Regions from separate parts of the Homo sapiens genome. Here regions 1 and 2 are each linked to region 3. The links are contacts of gene promoters, found by promoter capture Hi-C in blood cells and fetal thymus (Javierre and others, 2016). All regions are on one chromosome and are shown on one strand. Each heading gives the region's core, a stretch centred on a gene start or on the middle of the fragment in contact. The rest is flanking DNA. Distances are from core to core; before and after follow the strand shown.

Evidence for each region. Contacts are between HindIII fragments. The CHiCAGO score rates a contact against its expected background, and 5 or more counts as called.
Region 1: a contact is called between a fragment that was not itself captured here and the fragment with the promoter of UCHL5 in region 3, in 9 of 17 cell types (total CD4 T cells, naive CD8 T cells, naive CD4 T cells and 6 more). The highest score is 13.6, in total CD4 T cells.
Region 2: a contact is called between a fragment that was not itself captured here and the fragment with the promoter of UCHL5 in region 3, in 2 of 17 cell types (total B cells and naive CD8 T cells). The highest score is 6.7, in total B cells.

Annotation. Positions count from the first base shown.
Region 1 is chr1:194,298,317-194,301,783 of GRCh38, reverse strand. All of the region lies in intron 2 of LOC107985242 (a long non-coding RNA gene), which reads left to right. LOC105371670 (a long non-coding RNA gene) reads left to right here and starts at 1,838. Exons shown (of 3, transcript XR_922390.2): 1 at 1,838-1,877. The HindIII fragment of the contact is 1,451 bases long and covers 859-2,309 here.
Region 2 is chr1:194,274,392-194,277,660 of GRCh38, reverse strand. All of the region lies in intron 2 of LOC107985242 (a long non-coding RNA gene), which reads left to right. Among named protein-coding and RNA genes, the nearest start is that of LINC01031, 970 kb to the right of the region's middle. The HindIII fragment of the contact is 550 bases long and covers 1,608-2,157 here.
Region 3 is chr1:193,057,679-193,060,713 of GRCh38, reverse strand. It overlaps UCHL5 (ubiquitin C-terminal hydrolase L5), which reads left to right and starts at 1,354. Exons shown (of 11, transcript NM_001199261.3): 1 at 1,354-1,529. The coding sequence starts at 1,454. It overlaps RO60 (Ro60, Y RNA binding protein), which reads right to left and starts at 1,102. Exons shown (of 9, transcript NM_001173524.2): 1 at 938-1,102. RefSeq lists enhancers at 203-935, 1,003-1,532, 936-1,668, 1,693-2,002. The HindIII fragment of the contact is 5,498 bases long and covers 1-3,035 here.

The sequences.
Region 1 (3,467 bases), core at 335-2,834, 1.2 Mb before region 3:
TGGCCCTGTATTCTGTTCTCTTGGGCACTGCTCTAGGTTTAGGGAGAAAGAGGGATACCATTTGCAGAACCCATATTTTCAGTGTGTTTGAGAAATAAGGTATTCAGATATGCTTATTTAACCATAAGGCCATCATTGTTCATCCTAATAATACAACTCATATTGTTGCTGAAATATTTTACATAAATGTCTAGCATTATATTTAGTCTGTGGTTTTGCAGACCCTATGATTTCTCAAATCAGGAGATCTCCAGTGACAGTTTTGTTACATGTTAGAGTGAATTTAAAGTGTTTTGATTATGTTTTATTTATTTTTTGAGGCAGAAATACTGTTGAATGAGAGGGGAGACTTCATATTTGCTTTGCATAGAAAAAATAAACATTTTATTTCTTTTTTCAGTTTTTTTTTGTGGGGGTTGAGAGTGGTTCTGTTTTCCAAATATTTTCATATATCCTCCATAGAACTTTAAATGATGTTTCACATGGTGTACAGGCTCAACAATATCTCCTGACAGGCAAGAATAGGAATAAAATAGTGAAGAATCCTTTCTAAGCTTGTATTCTGGGTAGTGAGACTTTGAATAATGAGGCCAAGGCAGCAATTTTCATCTCTATGTGGCCTCTTAGGCTCTGCTCTGCCGTAGTGTCATGAGCAGCAAGCTTATACTCTAAAGAATGAAGTGTGCTGCCATACCCGAAGGCAAAGCCCATCTGCTTGTTCTATTTTTCTTCTCATGCTCAGCCAAGTTCTAGAGAATAATAGTCCTGGGCTACAGGAAAGCATTCAGCTACCACAGCTTCCTAAACTAAAATTTCTGACATATGGCTCATGATAGGAAATGTTCAAATAAATAAGCTTAGGTCTAGGTGCTGTTCTGGATCCAGTCCCTAAGATTGAACTGCCATTTGGAGTAGAGATCTATTTACAAGTACGAATGTTATATATTCAGAATGAAGTATAGATACCATAGCGAATGAGTCAGCAACCTAGGTCCTCATTCCAAATAAACAGCAATAGTTTGTTCAAATCAGAAAACAACAACAACAGAAACAAACAAACATTATTGGGTAGATGATAAAACAAACCTGGGAAGCAATGGCTATCAGGCATATTTGTTGAAAATGTTCTATACTTAGGCAGAAGGTATGCATTCTGGTAACTTGGAGGGAAACTAATAAAAGTTGGCAGGAGCTCAATCCTAGAAGGAAACTTAGTCATAGGGACATGACAATGAAGGACAAAGTCTAAGGGAAATATGGCACAGAGGAGAGCTTGGCAGTTGGTAATGAAATGAGAAAGCAAGAGAGATTGATTTCTTCTCATGTTACTCCTCATGGTTGGCAGGGTATACGTATACCCTGAATATGGTCAGGGTTTACCACTGGGCTGGAGATAGTTTTAAGCATCCTGATGACCAGATCTCATGGAGAGCAAAGTAAATTGCATTGGAACTGACACTCATTTCTTTTGTATTGGGATAATCTTTCTAATCACAGATGGAATGGTTGATTTGTATTTCAGGATAAGTTACTCCCATTGACCATCTTCCCATTTCCCCCACCTCTCATCTTCTCATAACCGTCATTGTGCTCTCTACCTCTATGAATTCAATTATTTTAGATTCCACATTTAAGAAAGAATATGTATTTTTCTTTCTGTGCCTGGCTTATTTTACTTAGCATAATGTCCTCTAGATTCATCCATGCTTCTGCAAATGACAGAATATCTGTCTTTTTTTTTTTTTTTTTTTTTTTCCGGAATCTCGCTCTGTAGTCCAGGCCGGAGTGCAGTGGTGTGATCTCGGCTCACTGCGACCTTCATCTCCTGGGTTCAAGAGATTCTCCTGCCTCAGCCTCCTGACTAGCTGGGATTACAGGTGTGCACCACTACACTCGGCTAATTTTTGTATTTTTAGTAGAGACGGGGTTTCACCATTGTGTGTGTGTGTGTTTGTGTGTGTGTATGTGTGTGTATACTTGGAGGAATAAATGATAAGTATTTGAGATGGTGGATATGTTACTTAGACTCAACATTCCACACTTATACGTATTATTGGATCACTTTGTATCTCATAAATATCTACAAGTATAATTTGTCAAAGTTCAATAAAATTAAATTTTAACAAAATGATGCCCCTGGCCCAGATTTACAACCCTCTACCAAAAAATTGAGAATCAGCAGAAAATTATTCTTGCAGCTTTAGAGATACAGATTTTATTTTTAAATACAGAAATGAGTTCATTTTACACTCAGAAATACGACAAGATGGGCGCTTTTCTATGTTTCTCTGTGCTTAGAAACTGAAGCTTACTTCACCCTTTATCCAGCAGTGGAATCAGGTAAAAAATATCCCAACCATGGATTTTGGAATATTTACAAGCCTAAAGAGTGGGTTAGAGAAAGGTTCCTAGACTAGAAACAGAAGAAGGAAAGAGGAACTACTAAAGGAATGGAGAAGTTAAAGGAATATGAACAACCAGAATGATAAGTATATGCAGGAAAATAAAGGGAGCCTGAAAAGGGCTCATTCCACAGGTTAAATACTTCCATGTGACAACGCCTGAGCAAAGAAGACCCATGCTCAAGATTCAGGCTCAGGGATGTACAAGCCAGGCTGTGTGCATCATGGACATATGGTTGAAATATGATTTTCCTATTGCTCACCAACTGTCTTTACACACACTTTATCTTCAGCAGGCTAATGGGACCCCTTCAACAATAACAACAGGAAGGCTAAAATTTTCAGTCTTCAATCACTTAAACCATAAACTCGTAGGGCTGTTAATCTTTCTCTGACTGCTTTCCCCAGTTAGATTGCTTTCTCTTTTGACACTTATAATCCTTTGCTTTGTTTTGTCATTTATTTGTCAGGACTACATAATGAAGATCATATTTTTTGAAAAATATTTACTTTTATATTTTAGGTTCCCTTTGTTTGGGATTATTCTTTAGTCGGCCAGAGGCAACTATTTGCTTCAGGGATAAATAGGATTTACAGGAGGACTACAAAAAGAAAGAAGTAAAAAAAAAATAGGTTCACCTTTGGATTGCTAGAGTATCATCTCATGACAATTGTTTTGAAAACCAAGCATATTCAGAAGATTTTAAAACTTTCACTTTCCATTGACATATAAAGAAACTTTTTGTTGATTAGGTCATATAAATTTAATAAATCCAGGATGTTAAGCTGAGTAAGAATTCAATTTAATATGAAATATTAAAAGCCCCAATCATAAGAGAAAGAAATAAAAAAGCCAATAATTTATAGTCCCAGAGGATACTGTGAAGGGAGAAAGGGTCAAGCTCATGAGATATATGTGTGCTGATCCCTGGAGGACTGAGAGTCTGAAGTGGGTTCAAAGGCTGAAAGGAAAACTGAGAGCACAGGGATGGATGTTAGCCTGCTTTCTGTATGTAAACTTGGGAAGAGCCTGCTATGCAGGGTGACTTTATTCCATCATGGAGG
Region 2 (3,269 bases), core at 633-3,132, 1.2 Mb before region 3:
ACATTTAAATCTCTAATCCATTTCGAATTGATTTTAGTTTATGATAAAAGGAAAAGGTCCAGTTTCAATCTTTTGCTTATGGCTAGAAAGTTATGCAAGCACTATTTATTGACTAGCGATTCCTTTCCCTGTTGCTTGTTTCTGTCAAATATCAGATGGTTGTAGGTGTGTGGCTTTATTTCTAGGCTCTCCACCATGATCCATTTGTCTATGTGTCTATTTTTGTACCAGTACTATGCTGTTTTGATTACTGTAGCCTTGTTGTATAGCTTGAAGTTGGGTAGTGTGATGCCTCTGGCTTTGTACTGTTTGCATACGATTGCTTTGGCTATTCAGGCTTTTTTTTTTTTTTTTGGTTCCATACGAATTTTAGAATAGTTTCTTCTAATTCTATGAAAACATCATTGGTAGTTTGATAGGAATAGCATTGAATCAGATGGTGGTTATAAATTTTCTCTTTCTATTCAACATTTTAGATACTTTACTATAATGTGTTATGTGTTATTATATACTATAGATTATATGTTTATATTATATATAGATATATAATATCTATATGATATTGATATATATATCATATATAGTTTTTGCGTGTATATATATTTATGGAAGGCCTGACTTTATATATATATATCTATATATATCTCCATAAATCTGTGACTTCATATCAGTAATCAGTTTTTGGAAATCGTTAGCTATTACTTATTCAAATAATTATCCTGTCTAATTTTTTTTCATTTCTAATGGGACTGCATTTGCACATATATTAGACCTATTCATGGTATCTCTGTTCTTTCTGTATTCTCTCTAAATATTTTCATTTGTTTTACTGTTCAGATCTCCAATCTTGTCTTTTGCTGTTTCTCATGTGTTTTTCAGTACAGCCCTTTAATTCTTAATTTTACATATAGCATATTTTCTATTCTTTTAATTTTCTCATAACTCATTTTATAAAGTTCAGTTCTCTGACGAAAAATTCCAATTCATCTTTATTTGGTTGAAAATATTAATTAATCTCATATTATAATTTAGGTCTCAAATCCTCATAACCTATTACTCCTCTGAAACTATTTCTTTGTTTCTTTTCTAATCTTTGTTATTATCATCATGATCACCATAATTAGCACCACCATTTATTTTTGCCCATTGCTATGACATGTAATTTTTTTTTTTTTTTTTTTTTTTTTTTGAGACGGAGTCTCGCCCTTTTGCCCAGGCCCGAGTGCAGTGGCGCTATCTCGGCTCACTGCAAGCTCCGCCTCCTGGGTTCACACCATTCTCCTGCCTCAGCCTCCCAAGTAGCTGGGACTATAGGCGCCTGGCTAATTTTTTGTATTTTTAGTAGAGACGGGGTTTCACCGTGTTAGCCAGGATGGTCTAGATCTCCTGACCTTGTGATCTGCCCGCCTCGGCCTCCCAAAGTGCTGGGATTACAGGGGTGAGCCACCGCGCGTGGCCTATGACATGTAATTTTTTAAATGGAATTGTGCAGAAAAAAAATTAGAAATATTTTAACACATTGGCTTGTCTTTATAGAGTTTTTCTTTCGTTTTTCACAGGTAGTTAAATTTGGGCCATACCACCTTAATCCAATATGAAATTAAGCTTATTTGAAACTGATTACAAATCATTATGAGATCTGGTCTACATCTTACTTGATTTTGTCTTCATGCAACTGGAAGACTAGTGTATTCATAAAAATTGTTCCACCTCTGCAAGCCCTGAACTGTAATCCATACTTCCATAGTCTTGGTAAATTGCTCATAGCTATCTTCAGTTTCCAGACTCTAGAATTCAGTATAGGTTATTGGAAATTACCATAATTCAGTTAGTGATTGAGCTAATACTTGGTGGGATTTCAATGTTTGTGACAGCTAGTCAGTTCCTAAGTTACTGTTTTTTTAAGAGTATATTCCTTCAGGCCTCACAAATAAAAGGCTAAAGTATTTGTGTGCTCCTCCCCGTCAGGCTTACATTCAATTTATTTTATCCCACCTCTGGGAGATTAAAAAAATATATTTGTTCAACTTCTTGAATTCCATACCACCGTATGTGGATTGTCGTATCCCCAGATGGAAGAATCACACATAGGAAATCCACATTCACCTCTTTGCTTCTCCTCTGTCCAGGATCTTGTTCCTACAGGACTTGAAAGCTTTAAAGTGACTAATAAAAAGAAGTTACTCAAATTTTCTAGCCTTTGGTTGGAAGATTTAACTGAGACAAGCTAATATGCTTTTCCTGGAAATATTCTGTGGTTTATATTCAAAGATTCATTCTTTTGTTTCAATTATGCATATTATTTTAAGCATATCATGATCACTGAAAGTCACACCAAAATTCTTTACATCTTTTAATTTTTGTTTTGCAGCACAATTTTTGTATTGTACTATGTAGCACCAAGAAAGTGTATAATTTTCATATGTTAGCCACAGGTGAAAAACAAATTCTGCTTGGAGTGGAAATATTTTATTTTTCCAATTAACTTTTAACCTAACAAACACCATAGTATTAAAAATACGTTCAGTTTTCTTAAGAAGCAAAACCTACACAGCATAATTAACTCATGGGACTTTCTAAAGTTACAAGGCCAGAGTTGGGCATATTTAATGCTATCAATTAATTATCTAGAGAATAGTGGATATCCAGTAACTCACTCCGTGCTTGGTAAACATTGAGAAGCAAGCAACTTATTTGTTATAATGTCATTGGTTATTCTTGAGAATACATTTCCGAATTATATATGAAAGCTAATGGGTAATATGATTATTTAATACAATTTGTTTTATGAAAAACAATTCCTTAACAAAAGTCATAGTAAATGACAGCAAATGAATGAAACATTAACTATTTGTTAATCTCCTTGCTTCCCCTTTGCATGCGTAATTACTATTTATTCTTACAACACTTTGAGGTAGATATCAGGCTTTTATAACCTAAATAACTCACCCAAAATTACAGAGGTAGTAAGTGATACAGATATAACTTAAATATATCTCTTTCTGATTTCAATGATTGTTCTCTGAATAGAATTTTTCTTCCTGATTCGTCTTGTTACTTCATAAGTTTACAATTCATTCTCAAAGAGATACAGCAGCTTGTTGCCTGTTTATTACTAATATTGAATGAGCTGAAATACAATAATATGGATCAATGTAAGAAATCAAGAAATGTGTTTATTTTTAAATGCCTTTACATGCCTTTTCTTTTAACTCTAAAATCTTCATATTTTCATCTTTTCCAATAATTTACTTAAATGTTTATAAATA
Region 3 (3,035 bases), core at 105-2,604:
CAAATTTTGGCTTCTACCCCATAGCGTACTCAGGCTCCTTTTAATACAAAAGCTGCTCTGTTGCTTCCCTCAATAAAATTTACCACGTTTATTTCATGGCTTCACATAATCTGTAGCACAAGGCTCCCTAACTCCAGGGCACAAGTCACCTATTTGAGAAGGAAGGAGTCAGAGTTTTACCCACTAAAACATTTTTTTTTTCTGGAAGCCAAAGGTCTTTCTTGGAATATGTAGCTTTTAAGGAGTAAATATACACTTAACGACTTCAATATACTCTTAAAAACTTTAATCTTAACACTATAGTATTCTATAAGAGCCTGCTGAATGAGGGCAATTTAGTAAATATTTAGTAAATATTTGGTTTAACTCATCATCCAGTTTTAGAACCATTCCAAATGTTTTTAGATTAATACACGACATTTGTTTTCAACCTAATTTTCCCTTGACGCACCGCATCCCCTTCCACTAGTCTAGCAGCCCCATGGACAAACCTTTCTCCTCTCCCTCGTTATTCCTCTGTGATAAATTCACCCTGTCTTCCCACAAAGATCCTTCTTCCAAAACCCAGATCCCGGGCGACGCCTCTCCGCGCAGAAGCCGCGGGAGAAGGAGGAGAAAGAGGAGGAGTAAAGCAGGCCCTCTCGACGTCGGCCTGTGGGGAGCGATGCCGACAAGCAGGAGCGGTCCCGGCTTCGGAAAGGGCCCACCCTGAGGAATGGTCCGGCCGGGCCTAGCGAGGATGTCCCTACCGCGATGCTGGTTCCGTTACCCAGGGTGGACAGGCGCGGAAGCGGGACGGGGAAGAGCGATAGTTTCGCGGCGTTTGCCCAGCCTCAACCCCTGGGATGCGGGTGAGAGACATGGAGGACTGGTCAGAATTTGCGCGTCCCTGGGGCCGCACAAAAGGCTCCCAGCCGGCCTCCCGCAATGTCCTCACCTGTACCTGGCAGCCGACCCCCTGGATCCGCAGCGCCGCCAGGAGAAGTCCTGCGCAGCGCTGGGAAACGACAAAAGAAGGCAGCCTGACGGGCAGCGACAGCCACAGCAACAGCAACAGCCCCACTGCCGCCGGGGATTCCAGGTTCGGTTCCCGGGAACGAGTCCTGCCCCTCTTCTTTTGCCCCGCCTCCGCCCCAGAGGGGCGAGGATCCCGGATGTTGCCTCCTCGGCGCTGTGAATCACCGCCCTTTCTTCTCAGGCCCCAGCCCTTCCGAATCCGCTACGGGTGCTGCAAGGCCTGGGAAGAGTTTCGATGTCTCTAGGGTGGCTAGAGCGTCCTCCCGCGCTCAGTCGCGCTGCAGGTGACGGCGCCCGGAGGCTGTCGGGAAGTAGGCGGGGTGACGTGTGGTTGACGAGCTCGGCGGCGGGTTTGCTGAGATCTGTGGCCGGCGGCAGCTGGTGCGGGGGGCAGCTGAGAGCGAGAGGTGGATCGGGGCGGTGTGTGGCCAGGGCCATGACGGGCAATGCCGGGGAGTGGTGCCTCATGGAAAGCGACCCCGGGGTCTTCACCGAGCTCATTAAAGGATTCGGTGAGAACCAAGGGGACCGTCCTGGGCCTGGGGTCACGGGAGGAGGCCCAAGCTGGGCATGGAGTGGTTCCCTGCGGCCACCGCCGCCCCGCGTCTGGAGAGGTGACTTCAGGAACCTGGAGTCCGGGTGGGGGAAATGTAGATGTTCTGCCCTCTCCTCAGCTCGAGACAGTCGCGTTTCCACAGTAATTTGTAGAGCCACACCACGAGGGCAAGGATCGTGTCAGTCTTGTGCCTGCTGCATCCTCAGGACCTGGCACCCAAATCCTGTAATTGACTTGAGGGCCCTCGCTCCCCAAGCTCTTAAGCACGTATTGCCCTTTGCACTGCCCCTTCTCTGCGGCGCGCACCTTATCCCGGGCTGGTGAGGTCAAGTGCATTGCTCAGGCCATTAGTCCTGCAGAAGCCACCCTAGGGTGCGCCTTCTCAAGGGTGAGGTGTCTGCGGCTCAAGCCGCCCAGGAACTCGAGATTCTGGTTATTCAAAGCAGAACGCCTTGAATGTGTGAATAGCTCTTCGGGACGTCCACACACGCTGACTGCGTGGGCCTGAAAGGCCACTTCACTGGTTCCGCTCTCTGCTCATTTCTGGCTTCCGGTGAAGTGAGTTTTCTTGAGCTAGTGTTCTAGACTAGAGGCCACATGCTTTCCTCACAGTTTCTCTCTGGCTGTATTTAGTGCCTTTCGTCCTAAATAATCAACACATTTTACTTTTTATCCTTCCCTATTTATCTTGTTCTTAGTCTCTTCTTTGGACAGTACGTTTTTATCTATTTCCCAAGTGTTATTGACTCTACGATGTTAAAACTTTTACGCGGGATTAACAATTAAACGTTGATGTAGATATTGCCTGTTGTACACAGCTTAATATTTGGAATGTCATTTATCAAGCATATGTTGTTCATCTTCTATATCTCAGGCACAGTGGTAAGGATTGGGAAATTTTCTTTTTTTTGTTTGAGACAGAGTCTCGCTCTGTCGCCCAGGCTGGAGTGCAGTGGCGCGATCTTGGCCCACTGCAACCTCCATCTCTCGGGGTCAAGCGAATCTCCTACTTCAGCCTCCCGAGTAGCTGGGATTACAGGCACGCGCCACCATGCCCGGCTAATTTTTTTTTTTTTAGTAGAGACAGGGTTTCACCATGCTGGCCAGGCTGGTCTCAGCTCCTGACCTCGTGATCCACCCGCCTCGGCCTCCCAAAGTGTTGGGATTACAGGCGTGAGCCACGCGCCCACCCAAGGATTGGGAAATTTTCATGTGAATAAACCATAACTGCTGTTTCGAATAATTGACAGTCAAACTATAATATGGTGTGTTAATTGCTATGTTAGAGTATATACAAAATGTTAAAAGTACACAGGTCATGGAGGAGCACAGCCAGAAGGAAAAGCATAAACAGTAGTGATGTTAAAGTATATGGGTTAGCCAACAGCTAGCAAAGTGACTAGAACATAATATAGCAGACTGGAGGAATATTTATTTGGATCTGAAACTGAAAAGATAAACT